Regions from separate parts of the Homo sapiens genome. Here region 2 is linked to region 1. The links are contacts of gene promoters, found by promoter capture Hi-C in human tissues and cell types (Jung and others, 2019). All regions are on one chromosome and are shown on one strand. Each heading gives the region's core, a stretch centred on a gene start or on the middle of the fragment in contact. The rest is flanking DNA. Distances are from core to core; before and after follow the strand shown. Region 1 holds the start of TUBB2A (tubulin beta 2A class IIa). Region 2 overlaps PXDC1 (PX domain containing 1).

Region 1 (7,198 bases), core at 3,450-5,949:
ACGCGGCAGGAGGGCACTGAGTCCTCTAAACGGCCTTAGTCATGGGAAGCAGAGATGAGTTTGCTCTGTAGATAATTCGGTATGCTCTGGACACCTCAGATTATGGGGAGAATGACAGTTGGGAGTAGGTTACATATTTTTGAGAATTTGTGAGATTATGTCTAAGTCATAGCAGAAGAAGATATAGTATTTCTTCACTCTTAATGTTGAAGGCAAAAAAAAAAAAGTTATAAAGGAACAAAAACACCTAAACAGCCCATGAATAGGAAAAACACAAAGGAATATAATACATCAAGCATTTAAAAAAATCTCGAGAACAGGGGATACACTTGTGCTCTTTAGTACTTTCTAAGTGTTTCTAATTTTATAATCAGGAAATATGTATATAAGATATATGTATATATAATTGCTGTGTACATTGTATGTATTTAAAAAAAACTTGGGGGGTTATAGCTTAATGAGAATTTGACATCAAGAATAACATCTTTGAGACCAGCCTGGCCAACATGGTGAAACGCTGCCTCTACTAAAAATACAAAAATTAATCAGGCATGGTGGTGCACGCCTGTAATCCCAGGTACTCGGCAGGCTAAAGCGAGAGGATCGCTTGAGCCTGGGAGGCAGAGGTTGCAATGAGCGAAGATCATGCCACTGCACTCCAGCCTAGTCGAGACTCCATTTCAAAAAAAAACAAAAAATGACATCTTCAGTTTTGAAAGGCCCCAGATCGACACTTGTAATATGAATGTCACATTCTGGGGCATGGCCCATTCCAGAAAGTGGCTAAAAATCTTCTATATATTTACTCTGTATTATTATAGTCATCTGATGCAAAAAAAAAAAAAAATTGTAAACTTTGGTGGGGTTGATATTTTAAAATTAAATTTAATTGGAGTTCAGACTTTTATTTTAGGTAACCTTTTGAAAAGGTTACATCCCCTTAAATGCTTTGAACAAAATTCTTCCATCTTCATAAAGAGATGCTTTTATTTAAAAAATAGCAGACAGGGGCTGCACTGGATGAGTTTCATGGGAAAGAGAAGTTGGAGCGGAGAGTGTGGCTAGTTCTCTGAGGGCACAAACAGGATGCAAGACTGTACCATACAAATTTAGACAATTGTATTGCTGGGATGGTCCTTGGGTTTTCATCATTCTGCAGAGGAAACTAGTGTTTTTGAAGTTCCAGGACTCTCTTACTTGGACCAACTAAATCTATTTCAACTAGATCACGACTGTCACCCTTAGAGATGGCATCAGTGAACAGTAACGATATCATCATAACACCACATATTCACAGGGTACGTTTCACTAGAACATTCTCACCAGGACCCTTCTCGTTGGGCCCTCTGAAGCAGCAGGCGGGAAGGGCAGGCAAAAGGGTAAGAGCTTATGTCCTTTTGTGAAAGACAGATGTGGCTCAGCCTCCTACCTGGAACACATTCTCTAGTCTGAATTTTGTCATTACACCTGCCCTTCCCCGCCCCCCGCCCCTCACCCCGCCAATGATGCCTTCAGGGTAGGGGTGGCTCAGACACTGCGAGTGGCATCCTGTCTAAAGCAGGAAGTGACTTGAGGCTGGAGGAGGTTGGTCCTCTTCCCCTTCCCCATCCCCGGCCCACCCAACAGCCGGTGGAGCTGCTCCTCTTTAGACACTGAAAAATACATGAAAGGGGAGAGATTGCTCCTTAAAAACCTATTCTAGGGAAGGGGACAATTAGCAGGCTCTATTTCCTCCTGTTATTATCTGCATCGGTGCTGTACAAGGTCGAGTTGCTTAGTGACAGCGAGGTGGGGTTGGGGATATCTACACTTGCCGCGAGGGAGGGGAGAGCAGGAACTCACGGCCTCAGATGAGTCACCTTAGGCAGGGCAGGCATTATTTAAAACTCCGCGTGTGAGTTTCTCTGATTATATACTAACACACATCACGGGCGGCACCGAGGGAGGAGCGCGTCAGAGAGAAGTAGGCTGGGCGTGAACTGCCAGGCAGGAGAAGGCCGACTTGGGCAGAACATTCACTGCCAGCGATCCAGAGCAGACAATCAGGTACCTGGCCTGCGCCCGTGAACACTGCCATGGATTTATTTTCTGTGCGCTCACTAATGTCCAGTTCACGCACAGTGCCTCCCAGCTCCCCAACGTAAGAAAAACCCATTTCCAGAGAAGCTCAGAGAGGTGCAGTGACTTGCTGGAGGACTGAGCTAGGAACAGCAGAGTGGGCACATGCTCCACAGGCCGGGAAACGCCCAGCTGCTAGGGGTCCCCGTGTCCCTAGTGCTGTCCCTTTCAGGTCTCATCCTCTGCTCCTATTTGGCCTCAGATTTCACGCTGAATTAAAACACAAAGGCCAAGAAGCAATTATCTCTGGAAAAATCTTTTCAGAACTGTGTAATGAGTGAAGGTACCCCAAGGAGAGCCATTCTCTGGAGAGGATCTGGAAGGCTCCGGCTGTGGTGAAGAGCCAAGATGTGAGAGTTGGGGTGGGGGTGGGGAGAAGGTGGAGGTCAAGCCCTGGGTACCTGGGAGTAGCATCCGAGGGACAGGTTGTCCACTGGGGGCCCAGCAGCAGGGAGAGGGGAGAGAGGAGGAGAAATTCTAGGAAATCTGTCCCCACCCTGAGAAGAGGCACTAGGCACCTGCCTACCTACATCTGGGAGGATGCTGGGCGCTTCCTAAAGCTGGGGTGATTAAGACCTAACTTGGCCTAAGAGGCTACTCACAGACATCTGGCTTTAGTTTCCACCTCCGATACAGACCAACTATTGAGGTGGCAGGTAGGGTGCACATTAGGAATGACAGCATCATCTTGGGTTTTTTGTTGTTGTTTTTTATTGAGACGCAGTCTGGCTCTGTCGCCTGGGCTGGAGTGCAGTGGCGCCATCTCGGCTCACTGCAAGCTCCGCCTCCCGGGTTCACGCCATTCTCCTGCCTCAGCCTCCCGAGTAGCTGGGACTATAGATGCCTGCCACCAGGCTCGGCTAATTTTTTTGTATTTTTAGTAGAGACGGGGTTTCACCGTGTTAGCCAGGATGGTCTCGATCTCCTGACCTCGTGATCCACCCGCCTAAGCCTCCCAAAGTGCTGGGATTACAGGCGTGAGCCACCGCGCCCAGCCCATCACCTTGGGTTTTACCAAGGCATTTTTACTCCATAAACTCAATGTGCTTTCATATATGGCTTCTCATCTCCTACCACAAAGCCAGCTCCAAGGCACCTGTAATTATCATCATTATATAGTTGGAATGTGCTGGGAACCAAAGGCAGTCCCCAAGCCCCTGTTACCTAGTCCACCGTGCAGGGCCATCTTTGTGAATAATTAAGTCAGGTCCTTACCACAGCCCACCCAAGCCTTTAAAACTCACCTGGGCTTTTTATTTATACAAAGGCTTTAGATTCCTTCCCTTCCTAGCTTTGTGGCTGGTCAGGTCTTTCAACCTCGCTTTCGGAGCTATGAAATTGGGGTAGTAATAATGCTTACCAGAAGCCGGTGGTAGTCAACAAAAATATGCGTAAGTGAGCAGCAAATGGAAACCAAGTATGTAATTTTACATTTTCTAATTTCAAAACAAGTCATTTAACACAATGTATCCAAAACACTATTATTTTGATAGACCATCAATATTTAAGAATCAGTAATGAAATATTTCACATTATTTTAACTTACTGAGCCCATAAAAGCCAGTGTGTTCTTCACACTTAACAGCCCATCTCAGTTCAGATTACCTACGTTTCAATGCTCGGCAGCCACCGTGCCTAGGGTCTACCGAACTGGCCAGCCTAGCTCCGACAGCTTCTGTGAGGATCAGGCGACCTAAGGGGTGTAAGGGGCAGGGCCATCAGCTGACACATCAACGTGGCAGATATATTCCTCCTGTCTTTCCTCTCTGACACACACACACACACACACACACACACACACACACACCCGCAGAATTTTCCACATTTAAAAGGCCTTTACAAGGACGCAGGAGCCCAAAGCGGACATGTGACAAATCCAGCCCTTTGATAGCCCCCCCAACCCCCGCCCCCGACCAAGCCATCTTCCTCCCCTGCAGGGGCGAAAGGCCGCCCACCCCGCCATCCTGGCATTCCTTTCAGGCAGCTGCCCGTCGGCTCCCCGCGGCCCCCCACTCCTCTCCACGCTGCCCACCCCACCCCCACAAACGGCGTCCAGGACCCTGCCCAGGATGCGGGAAACCTTTGCCACCCGCTGGAGAGCCCACTGCAAATGGGTCTTCAATTTCCGGCCCCCTACTCCAAAGGGTACTCGACGCCTCTTCCCGTCCTTAGGAGGCGAGGACCCTGTTCCGAGGCAGCCCCTCCCCCTGGTTCCGGGGCCCCCGGTCCCCAGCCCCCCTCGGGGGTCCAGAGTGGGCGGCTCGGGGTGGGGATCGCGGCGTGAGCGGAGGACCCAGCGCCAGGGGTCGCCCGTGCCCGTGGATCGGGCAGGGGGCTGCGGCTGGGCCCGAGGCCCGGGCACCGCACTCACCGCCGGACCGCGAGGCCGGCCGCCCACCCTAGACCCAGCGGCAGCAGCAATAGGGCGAGCGCCCCCACACCTCGCACCGCGCCCCGGCTCCCCCTCGCGGTGCCGCAGTCCCAGCCGCACCGCCCCCGCGGCCACAGCCCCGCCCGTCATGACGTCACCGGGCAGGGCGGGTCCCCGGGTATAAAAGACCGAGCTGGGGGGGCGGCGGCAGGTCTCTGCGCAGCCCAGCCCGCCGGTCCACGCCGCGCACCGCTCCGAGGGCCAGCGCCACCCGCTCCGCAGCCGGCACCATGCGCGAGATCGTGCACATCCAGGCGGGCCAGTGCGGCAACCAGATCGGCGCCAAGGTGGGCTCACCGCCACGGAGGGGCCCGGGGTTGGGACCGAGGGTGCGGGCTGGGGCCGGGGCGGGGGCTGGAGGCCGCGGCGGCCCCGGGCTGGCCGGGTGGCACATTCCGCGGCGAGGCCGCCGGGCGGGGTCCGGGAGGCTGCATGACCCGCCAGGATGCCCGCAGCGCCGCAGCTGTGTGTGCGTTTAATCGGGGGCCTTTCGATTTCCCTGGGACACAGCCCTTCTGCGGGACGCGGTTGGCATTCCCCTGGGTGTATTTGTCTCAGAAACTTGGGTCGGGGGTACGGTCATATTTATTGCGCTAGCTTCATGTGAATTTAATTTGTATATTTTTCTCTACGGTTTGAATGAAAACATGCAGTGTCACTGGACTGGCAGATGTAACAGAGGCGTCCCTTTGGGTCGTACAGGCAAGGGTGTTAGATAAATTCCCTTGCTCGGGCACTGTCTTGACATGATGACATACAACGCGATAGTCTTGCTGCCAGTCCCCGAGGCGGCAGGTGACTGCGCTGGGTGGGGGCTGCAATTACCGACCGCTGTGTGGGAGGCAGCAGCGGGTCTGGTGCATGGGTGGGGGCGGGCGCCAGTACAAGGACGTGGTCTCTTTGAGAACCGCCATGTTGCCCACCCAGCCTCCCCGCCGCAAATTCACAATGCAGCCAGCGCCCTCACGATGGCCAGCTCCTTCCACTGCCGCCCAGGTGCCCTCCCAGGCTCCTGCTGCCCTTCGCCCAGTCCCTCCGGTGGTCAGTGCCAGCATGTAGATCGGTGGCTTAAACCTGCACTGTTGCAGGAGTGCCTGGGATCTGTGCCAAGAGAGCTTGATCCCTGGAGGCAGCCACAGAGTGGGTCCCCCTGTCCTTGGCCTGCCACGACCCATCAATCATCCCGGATGCAATGGCATTCAGCCCTGCCTGGGGTGACACAGCCTCCCTGTACCCCTTCTCCACTTCTCTACTCTCCCCACCCTCTCCCTAGAAGGGCATCTGCTGTGTCCCCTCCTCCTCCAGGGCCCCTCCCAGCCTTTCAGTCTATCCCCATAATATGGCCGATGCTCTGCGGATTTTCAAGCCCCTCAGCAGCGGCTGCTGCAGGAAATAGGGGGTGCAGCTCTTTGCTCTCTGTCTAGCACTTACTAACTGTCTGACCACAAAAGCCCCTGTTCCAAGGACATGGGAGGAGGACAAGGCCATCCTTAGTGACATTCAGGATGCAGAGCCATGGTGTGGTTCTTTTTTCATTTCAGTTTTGGGAGGTCATCAGCGATGAGCATGGGATCGACCCCACAGGCAGTTACCATGGAGACAGTGACTTGCAGCTGGAGAGAATCAACGTGTACTACAATGAGGCTGCTGGTGAGTAGCGGGATGTGTGTGCCCAGGAATCCTTGCTTTCCATGATGTGGGAGATGAAACGTCCCAGGAACATGCACGTGACAAAGGCATGCTTCTTGCATATTCATTTCAAATGCCAACTGCTGGAAAAACATGTTTTATGGTTTCCTAAGATTCCTGCCTGTTTGCCACGGCTAAGCACACTCAGGACCTCCTTTTTCTTAAAAGCAGAAAATCTCCTGTTCTCCTTTTGTCTCAGATGCTGGAATTGAATGCTGCTGTGAGTCCCTCCCCAAGCACAGGCCTGAGTCAGTTCTTATTTCCTGCAGGTAACAAATATGTACCTCGGGCCATCCTGGTGGATCTGGAGCCTGGCACCATGGACTCTGTCAGGTCTGGACCCTTCGGCCAGATCTTCAGACCAGACAACTTCGTGTTCGGTATGTAGTCATGATCACTGGGAACTGGCCAAATGACACACCTTCTTCCTAACAGCCCTGCAAAGCACAGTTCTTAGTGTTCAGTGCCAAGGTGACACTGTGTCCACGGCAGCCCTGAGTCCTGGCCTAGCTCCATGCAGTCCATGGGTGGTCATGGCTCACAGATCAACGCCAGCCTGCAGAGGGCTGCTGCAGCCCTCCCATTGCAGAGCAGCCTCAGACTGGAAGGAAGAAAGAGCAAGGAAAAGCTTCAAGCCAGGCTTCATAGGCTATAGGCAACTTGAAAGGACTTCAAAGAGCCAGGGGCCAAAAGCACAGGTTATGACCAGAGCTAGACAGATGCTGAGGCCACCTTCTCTGCTGGTCACACTGCCTTCACCTTGCCTGTTTAATTGTAGTTGAGTATAAAGAGAATGCCTCTTAAAAATGTATGTATTTCAGAACCAATTAAGTTTTCTAACCCTATCCTCTTCCTCAATCAATAGCCTCAGATGAGCTAAACTTACTTCTTACTTTATTATGATCCCCAGTGTTTTTGAGGTCACTGACATAGAAAAATATTTCTTCAGGTAAAAGAAGA
Region 2 (7,198 bases), core at 2,553-5,052, 570 kb before region 1:
GCTGTTTGGACTCATCAATTTCAGCCACAAAATCTGATTATTTAGGTTTAGGGGGCCTGGAAATAGAACACTGTTTTTCATTAATCTGGCTTCTGTATAATGTCAACCTTATTTTTACTAAATAGGGGTAGCCCAGTTAGGCAATTAATAAAAGGGCACTGAATGATCATGATAGATCACTCAGGACTCTTTATTGAGCCCTCAGTATTTGCTAGATTCTTTACATACATCATCTCAAGTTAGTCTGCACAATGGCCTTTGGAATGGATACCTTTATTTCCATTGTACAGATGAAGAAACTGAGCAAGAAGTAACCTGCTCTCCAGGCATAAGTAGCAGAGCCTTCCCCAGCTGCAGTCTGCATGCTTTCCTACCTGCTCGTGCCTCCTGAGGAGCCAGCATTCCACACTGAGACACGCCATGCTTGCTAGTGCTCTGGCCGAAGGCACATGGCAAGTTATCAGTGGATTTTGTTACAAGTCAGGCTCCCTGGTCCCGTAGCAATGAATCTCAATGCAGCCTTTTGCCTGAAGGTACAAGTTCATGGTCTATACCATCGTCTTGTGAAAACTGACCTGGGAGGTCAACTCCCATGTAAATATCTGCTGTCCGTGGTTGAAACGGGGCACAGGCTACAGGCTTAGCAAGAAGATCTCCTTAAACCAGTGGTCCCTACAATTAGAGGCTTGCTACAGCTAAATGTTTTTTCTTCTTTTTTTTTTTTTAAACTGTGGACGTGTTCTAATTTCTACAGCTTTTCTTAGGACTTGTTTGTTAAAGTGACCAAGTAAATAAAAATGTAAACTGTTAGAGAATCTGTGCTCCATTTTCACCTGGCACAGGCGTATAAAAGCTGTGCACACTTCCCTAGGTTTTAAGACAATTTGCTTTTCAATAAACCATCCCTTTCTGAACCCGTGTTGGGAATAAATGTTCCAGAGGTTGCTGCACACCTGCCAGCTGTGTAGCCTGCTGGCTTGCCCCTAGGTTTTTCGAGGTTCTGGGGCTGACAGCAGAGGTGGGATCCAGGAGGGAACCGGAGCTTCTCAGGGACCATCTTTAGTGAAATGTGAGAGTCTAAGCGAAGTCCCTCTCTGGGCCGGGCCTGAGACAGCAAGGTCCATGCAGGAGGCACCAGACATACCTTAGTGTCCTTCAGGGCCCAGCCAGCCTTGCAAATAATTAAACCACATGTATGTGCATGAGGCTCCTTGTCACAGGCAATTAAGGAAGGATTGCTTACAAATCTATTTTTTGGGGGACTGGTAATGACTCCGTTTTATAGAGCTCCAAATTTCACATTTAAGAAAGATTAGGCATGTAAAGTAACTCTTCAGAATTTTATTCAGAAGTGATTTGCAGCAGTGACATTTGTTTTAACTTGTAGGCCACCACCCAACCAAGTTCCCTTTGCAAAAGGGGTGGGAGAAAGGGGGATGGGGCTGTCAGCTGGCTGTATGGAGGTTGCTCTGAGGTTTTATGTGCTTCCCAAGAAAGACAGATTTGGGTCAGAGTTAATAAAAACAATAAAGGCAGTGGTTCTGTGCTGCCACCCATTTTAGATAGAGAGGCGAGGGAATCTTAGTTTATCTTGTTAGGATATGGCAGTTTTCACAGTCCGCCTGTTCAGCGAGGCTTTGGTAAGCATCTTCTTTCGCCCCTTTTACACCTGGAAGTGTGGCTGACCCCAGACTTTGGGCACTGATTCCTCTTTGCTTCGCAGAGCTCCTTCTCAGGACCTGCAGCCCTACCAGGTGGTACAGGGAGGAGGGCAGGGAAGAGCTGAGGACTGATGTCCCCAGGAAACACCAGTGGCCCTTCTCCAGAAAGGCAGGTGGAATTTTAGCAATGACCTGATGAATCTGACTGATGAATCGACATTTTGATCCTATGGGGGGCGAGGAGGAAATCTGTTTCTCTTTCCTCATTTTTGTGTAATTTCCCTAATTCTCTTCGTATGGAAAGCAGTTCAAAGAACTGAGAACCAAATATGTAGAAAGATTAAACAGAAAGTGACTATTTCAGTTACCAAAGAAAGCAAATCCATACACGGGAATGAACCAGGCTAAATTGTGGTAAGGTGTAAGAAAAAATAAAGGAAAACAGTCCCCCAAGCAACTAAGGCATCCGATGGGGCAGTGAGCGATGTTCCTGTTGGGTGTGGTGTGCCAGGGGAGAGGGAGGGCTGTTAGGAGCTGTGTCCTGAATGGGAAGAAGATAATCCCTTGGATTTGAGAAGGCACCAGGAATTTGGAGTATATTTTAGGCATGACTTTTATGATGGGGTGCATAGAGGTTCTGAGTCGAAAGAACAGATGAAGGTGGTCCTGGTCTTAGAGCTGTGGTTAGGAGATGAGCAGGCTCACGGGCAGCTGGAGGACTTTAGCTCCAAGAACTGGCCATGGCTACCAGATCTCATCTGCTGAGCGAGGGGACGGAAACGCGGTCCCTCAGAAAATACAAACGAACGCTGCAGCTTTTTATACCTAGATGGACCAGATGGCATGATGCGATCCAGGAGTTCATGGGATTTCAGAGTGAGAAGGATCCTCAGAGATTAATACAACTTTGAAATTTTTCATTGGAGGAAACTGAGTCCCAAGGCCATGGAGCTCGTTGTCCTGGCTCCTCATCCTCCATTCCAGCCCCTCCAGCCAAGGACGAGCGCAGACTTCCACCCTCTAGCTCATGCCATGCAGCCAGTATGGACGTAGGAAGTCGTTTTTCTTTGCTGGCTTTTCTAAATTACCCGAATCTGTGCTTATTTGGGAAAAAAATCATTTACATACAGAATTACATAAAGCGAAACAGTGAAAGTCACCCTTTGGTTTAAAATGCACACTGAGAAGTAACTCAGGAATGGGCAACCAATATTGTATATTCTCACTTAGAAGTGGGAGCTAAGCTATGAGGATGCGAAGGCATAAGAATGATATCATGGACTTTGGGTTCGTGGGGTGAGGGATAAAAGACTACTTACTGGGTATAGTGTACCCTGCTTGGGTGATGGATCCACCAAAATCTCAGAAATCACCGCTAAAGAACTTATCCGTGTAACCAAGACCCACCTGTAACCCCAAAACTATTGAAATAAGAATAAAATGCACACTGATTTCATTCAGTCAGAACAACAACCCAGGGCAGTCAATATTGTTACTCATGTCTCAGCCACAGTGAGAGCTCAGCAAGGAGAGGTACCCTGGGCAGAGCCACATGTCACTGTGCCATAGCTCTGCTCTCACACGCAGACTCACAGATTTGAGCCCAGTACTCCTTCTTTGTACTCCAGCTTGAAGCCCACAGCGAAGGGCATATGGAGAGCGTACTCAGGCAGCAGAGCATCTTTGTCTTGGGAGAGACACACAGCAGGCCTGGCTCCTGCGGGGATTGACCTCTTCCCTGACTTTGTGCGGCAGAGCTCTGAATGGGTCTCGGGTGCACGGCATTCTCTTACGGTGTGGAAGAGAGGCACGGGCAACAGGTGGAGGAGAAAGCAGGGAGATGGGAGTAAGTTCCAAACTCCAAAACCTCAAGCTCCGACCCCTCCTGAGGACTCACCTTGTTGCTTTGGTTTTCAGAAATCATGAGGTCCAATGGATTTTGTTTAGCAAATACCGAAACAATAGTTATTGACCACAGTATACCAAATGGAAGAGACCAGCAGCTGGGCGTGGACCCAACAGAGCATTTGTAAGTATGCTGATTTGAATATCGTTTCATAGACTGTCCTGAGCCATTTGCCTTGTGGGATGGGGGCTCACTGTTCTTATGGAAGGAAGTGGGTGCCCAGAGCCACCCAGCAGTTCCTACCTGCATTTGGACACTGATTTTAGAAGTTTGCCTTTCCTAGAGTCTGGTGAGATCTTGATGAGTGAATCTGTGGAAGATGGAGTTGCTGGCTCTGAGGGGCATTTAGGAGACGTTGCAGGGCTAGGGGCCTGGTTCGTGTGGGGCCCTGAGGGGTGTGATGCTGTCTCCAGGGCCAGGAGGGCCACATGCCTCACACTCAATGGTCCTGATTCCCTGAGATGGGGACATGTTTGCCTCAAGGCTGCCTGGCCCTGTGCTGAAGGTGTAGGATGTATCTGATTACTGAGGCTGGACAGCCAAAGCCACCACTGTCTTCTCCGCTCTTTCTGTCTCTGATTTGACTGTAACACATGCTCTAGAGAGCCCGGCACTGGGGTCGGCAGCATCTTCAGCCTTGGCTCTCCTCCAGGCATCTTCTTGGTGAATTCTGGGGGCACCAGGGTCCCCAGACAGCTTGGCCTCTGTTTCCTGACACAGCCAAATCCAGACTGCTCCTTGGCTGTATGAGCTCAGAAAGTTATTTAACCTTTCCTGACTTCTCTTACCTTCACGGGACCATTCTGCTGTCCCACCACGGGTTGTGTTGAAGACCACAGATGGTGAGTGTAAAACATCCCGCTTGAGAGTCCCACAGAGGCAGCTCTGGATGCAGAGTCTCCCTGTGGGCCCAGGAATGACATAGCCTGGGGATGGCCCGGGTCTTGCCCCACGCATTTGCTAGCCCTCCATAGCAGCAGATTGAAACTAGAGCCGGCCACATGTGCCGAGGCCCACATCCGGGCCTGTGGGCGGCAGGGCTGTGACCCCAGCGTGAACCTGGGCCCCAGCCGGCGGCCTGGGCCTCCTCTGCTGAATCCCTGCTCCATGACTGAGCATGGGGGGGTCCCTGTCAGGCTTGTGGGACTGGCTCCTGCTAACAGACCCCGTCTTTACCAGTGTGTCTCCCGGGTAGATGGTGCGAGAATCCTTCCCAGTAGAGGGGTCATGAGCTGCTGGTGGCAGAGGCTGTGCCGGTGGGGCCAAGGCCGCAGCTTTCCTGACCTGCCTTGCCCTTTTGTGTCCCTTGCCCTGACCCCACTGTACATAGCTCATTCACTCATTACCTATGGGTCCCCCATGCCAACAGGCTGGCACCGTGGAGGTACAAGGCTGGAGTGTAGTCATGGATGAAAGAAAGAGGCCCTTTAGCTTGGCAGGGGTAGTTACTGGCCAGGCACTGTCTTGGGGAGAAGACAGATGGAGACCCTTCCTCATCACCAGTTGTGCAGGCTCTGAGTCTGCAGTGTTTGCAAGGGGACCCCTTTCTATATCCAAGAGGCCCTTGGCACCCTGGAATGAGGCCAGATTTAGGAGGCAGGTTCAACTGTGAGCAGGCTGGAGCTGAGGAGAAACACACGGAGGGAAGAAAGCCGGGCCAGAGGTGTGGCTCTTGCAGCTGCCCGGGACTGACTGCATGTGCACAGGAGTGACAGGTCTTGAATAGGCGGCCACCTGCTCCGGGATGCCTGGCTCACAGAGAGGGCCGAGAAAATCTCCATGACCCCAGAAAAGCCTAACAAAGAAACGCCTGCCGCCATGGGGCTCGGGAGCATCTGGAGGGAGTTCCGACTTGGGCTTGCCGGGCCTTTCTCTGGCTCCTCAATCTCGGGCAGTGCAGTGGAGTCGATGGTCCAGCTCCAGTGTCTCACAGGGACGATCTGTTTCTACACGGCACCGGCTGTCGGGTGGGGGGTTGACAGCGACCAAGAGCACAGACACCCTTTGTGGAACTGGAGGCTTCACCTCCCTGCGTGGCTGTCCTCCCTGGCACCCGAGGCTGATTGTCTGGCCCGAGCCTGTGAGCCCAGTGCCGCCGGGCCCACAGCAGGGCCCCCACAGCAGAGTCTCAGCAGGCTGCCCCGAGTCTGGCCCCAGGGGCAAGTGGGCACCAGTGCCAGGGCCCAGAGACCCACCTGCACTCAGGGAATGGATGTATCTGATAGAGATGGGGCCAGTGGGGACTTCTGGGGCTCTGCAGGTGACAGTCTCAGCTGGCGAAGGGATTGCCTGGCTTCTGGGAGGTCATCCAGGGCCGAGGCACTGGGCGGTTCTGTGGGGACCTCAGGGAGCCTTAGCCCCATGACTCATTTTCCCTGAGCATCCCGGTCCCCCTCCCTCCTCATGTCCTCAGGGTCATCCTGTGATCTGGGCAGGGAGGACGGGCAGGTGGTGGGACACTGTTTGAGGTGGCGCTGTGGCTCTGTCCCTCGACTGGCTTGAACCTTTCGGCACGCCCAAGGTTCCCCCTTGGGTTTCCATCCAGCCCTGGTCTGGGGAAGAGATTTCATTCCCTGGATGAAGTTGGAGAGCTGCTCTGTCTCCGTGAGCCCCCCATAGCTTTCCCACCCACAGCTAGGGCTCTTTGTGCCGCGGCCTCTGTCCCAGCCTCGTGTTGCCAGGACCGTGAGCATAGGGAAGCCGAGGCGGGGGCTGACACCACACTCCAGGCCTGGCCATGGAGTCAGAGGGGAGGCCTTCCTCTGCAGCCTCAGCCTTTCTTATCCAAATGCCTTAAAGCTGTCTTCACAGCCCTGTCCCTTGAGGTCAGCGGGATTCGCACGATGTACTAGGTTTGTGGGGGACATATGCTCGCCCTGCCTTGTTGTGTGTCCGGCCAGGGGCCTGGACTGTGCAGTCATCTTGGTCATGGCAAAGCTTTCCAGAGATGGCTGAGTTCCCACAGTTGTCCACGGGCCAGGGCCACCTTCAGTCACTGGGGGCGGCACAGGAGGCAGCCCCGAGGTGGCTCCCAGGAGGGCGGGGCAGCTGCTTGCCTCTGTCCACACTCCCACGCGGCCTGCTGGGTTTGGGCTGATTCATAGGTGGAGGAAAATCCCACGAGCCGTACAGCTCTGTCCCCCTTCCTGGGGAGAATGTCCTTCTTGTGCTTTTCTCTGTTACGCATTTTTAAAGACCTGGAGTCTCTTTTCTTAACGTAGGAAGTCTGCCTGGGCTGCAGAGGGAGTAGAAACAGTTCCAGTGTGTGGGGAGTCAGTATCGCGGGCTTTTACGTCCCCTTATGTTTGGGGTTTGTATTCTTCCCTAGTTCTCCACACCCCATGTAAGTCCCCCATGTTCGGATGCTTCTCATCTGCCAGAGCGCGAATGAAACACGTACCCACATGCAGGCTTCCCCGCTAGAAGGTGTCTCCCCCCGTGACCTCCACGGGCCTCGCCGGCTCTTCTCCAGCCTCCTGTTCCCTCGCAGCCTCCTGTGCGTCCGTGTGTCATCTCTGCTGCGGTCAGGCTGTGAGCTCGTGACCACTCCTCTCTCAGCTGTCCCCAGGGCCCAGCACGAGGCAGGCGCCTCTTCCCTGAGGACAGACCCTGCCTGCCTTGTTCACTGCTG

What was found. Contacts are between HindIII fragments. The study calls those that stand out against the background at their distance.
Region 2: a contact is called between a fragment that was not itself captured here and the fragment with the promoter of TUBB2A in region 1, in 1 of the 25 tissues and cell types used here (dorsolateral prefrontal cortex).

Annotation. Positions count from the first base shown.
Region 1 is chr6:3,155,045-3,162,242 of GRCh38, reverse strand. It overlaps TUBB2A (tubulin beta 2A class IIa), which reads left to right and starts at 4,699. Exons shown (of 4, transcript NM_001069.3): 1 at 4,699-4,836; 2 at 6,091-6,199; 3 at 6,508-6,618. The coding sequence starts at 4,780. LOC105374889 (a long non-coding RNA gene) reads right to left here and starts at 4,542. Exons shown (of 2, transcript XR_926395.3): 1 at 4,490-4,542; 2 at 2,807-3,811. RefSeq lists a cis regulatory region at 1,501-2,095 and a silencer at 4,358-4,817. The HindIII fragment of the contact is 12,624 bases long and covers 1-7,198 here.
Region 2 is chr6:3,724,043-3,731,240 of GRCh38, reverse strand. It overlaps PXDC1 (PX domain containing 1), which reads left to right. Exons shown (of 5, transcript NM_183373.4): 4 at 3,579-3,690. Among named protein-coding and RNA genes, the nearest start is that of PXDC1, 24 kb to the left of the region's middle. RefSeq lists an enhancer at 6,728-7,198. The HindIII fragment of the contact is 7,395 bases long and covers 105-7,198 here.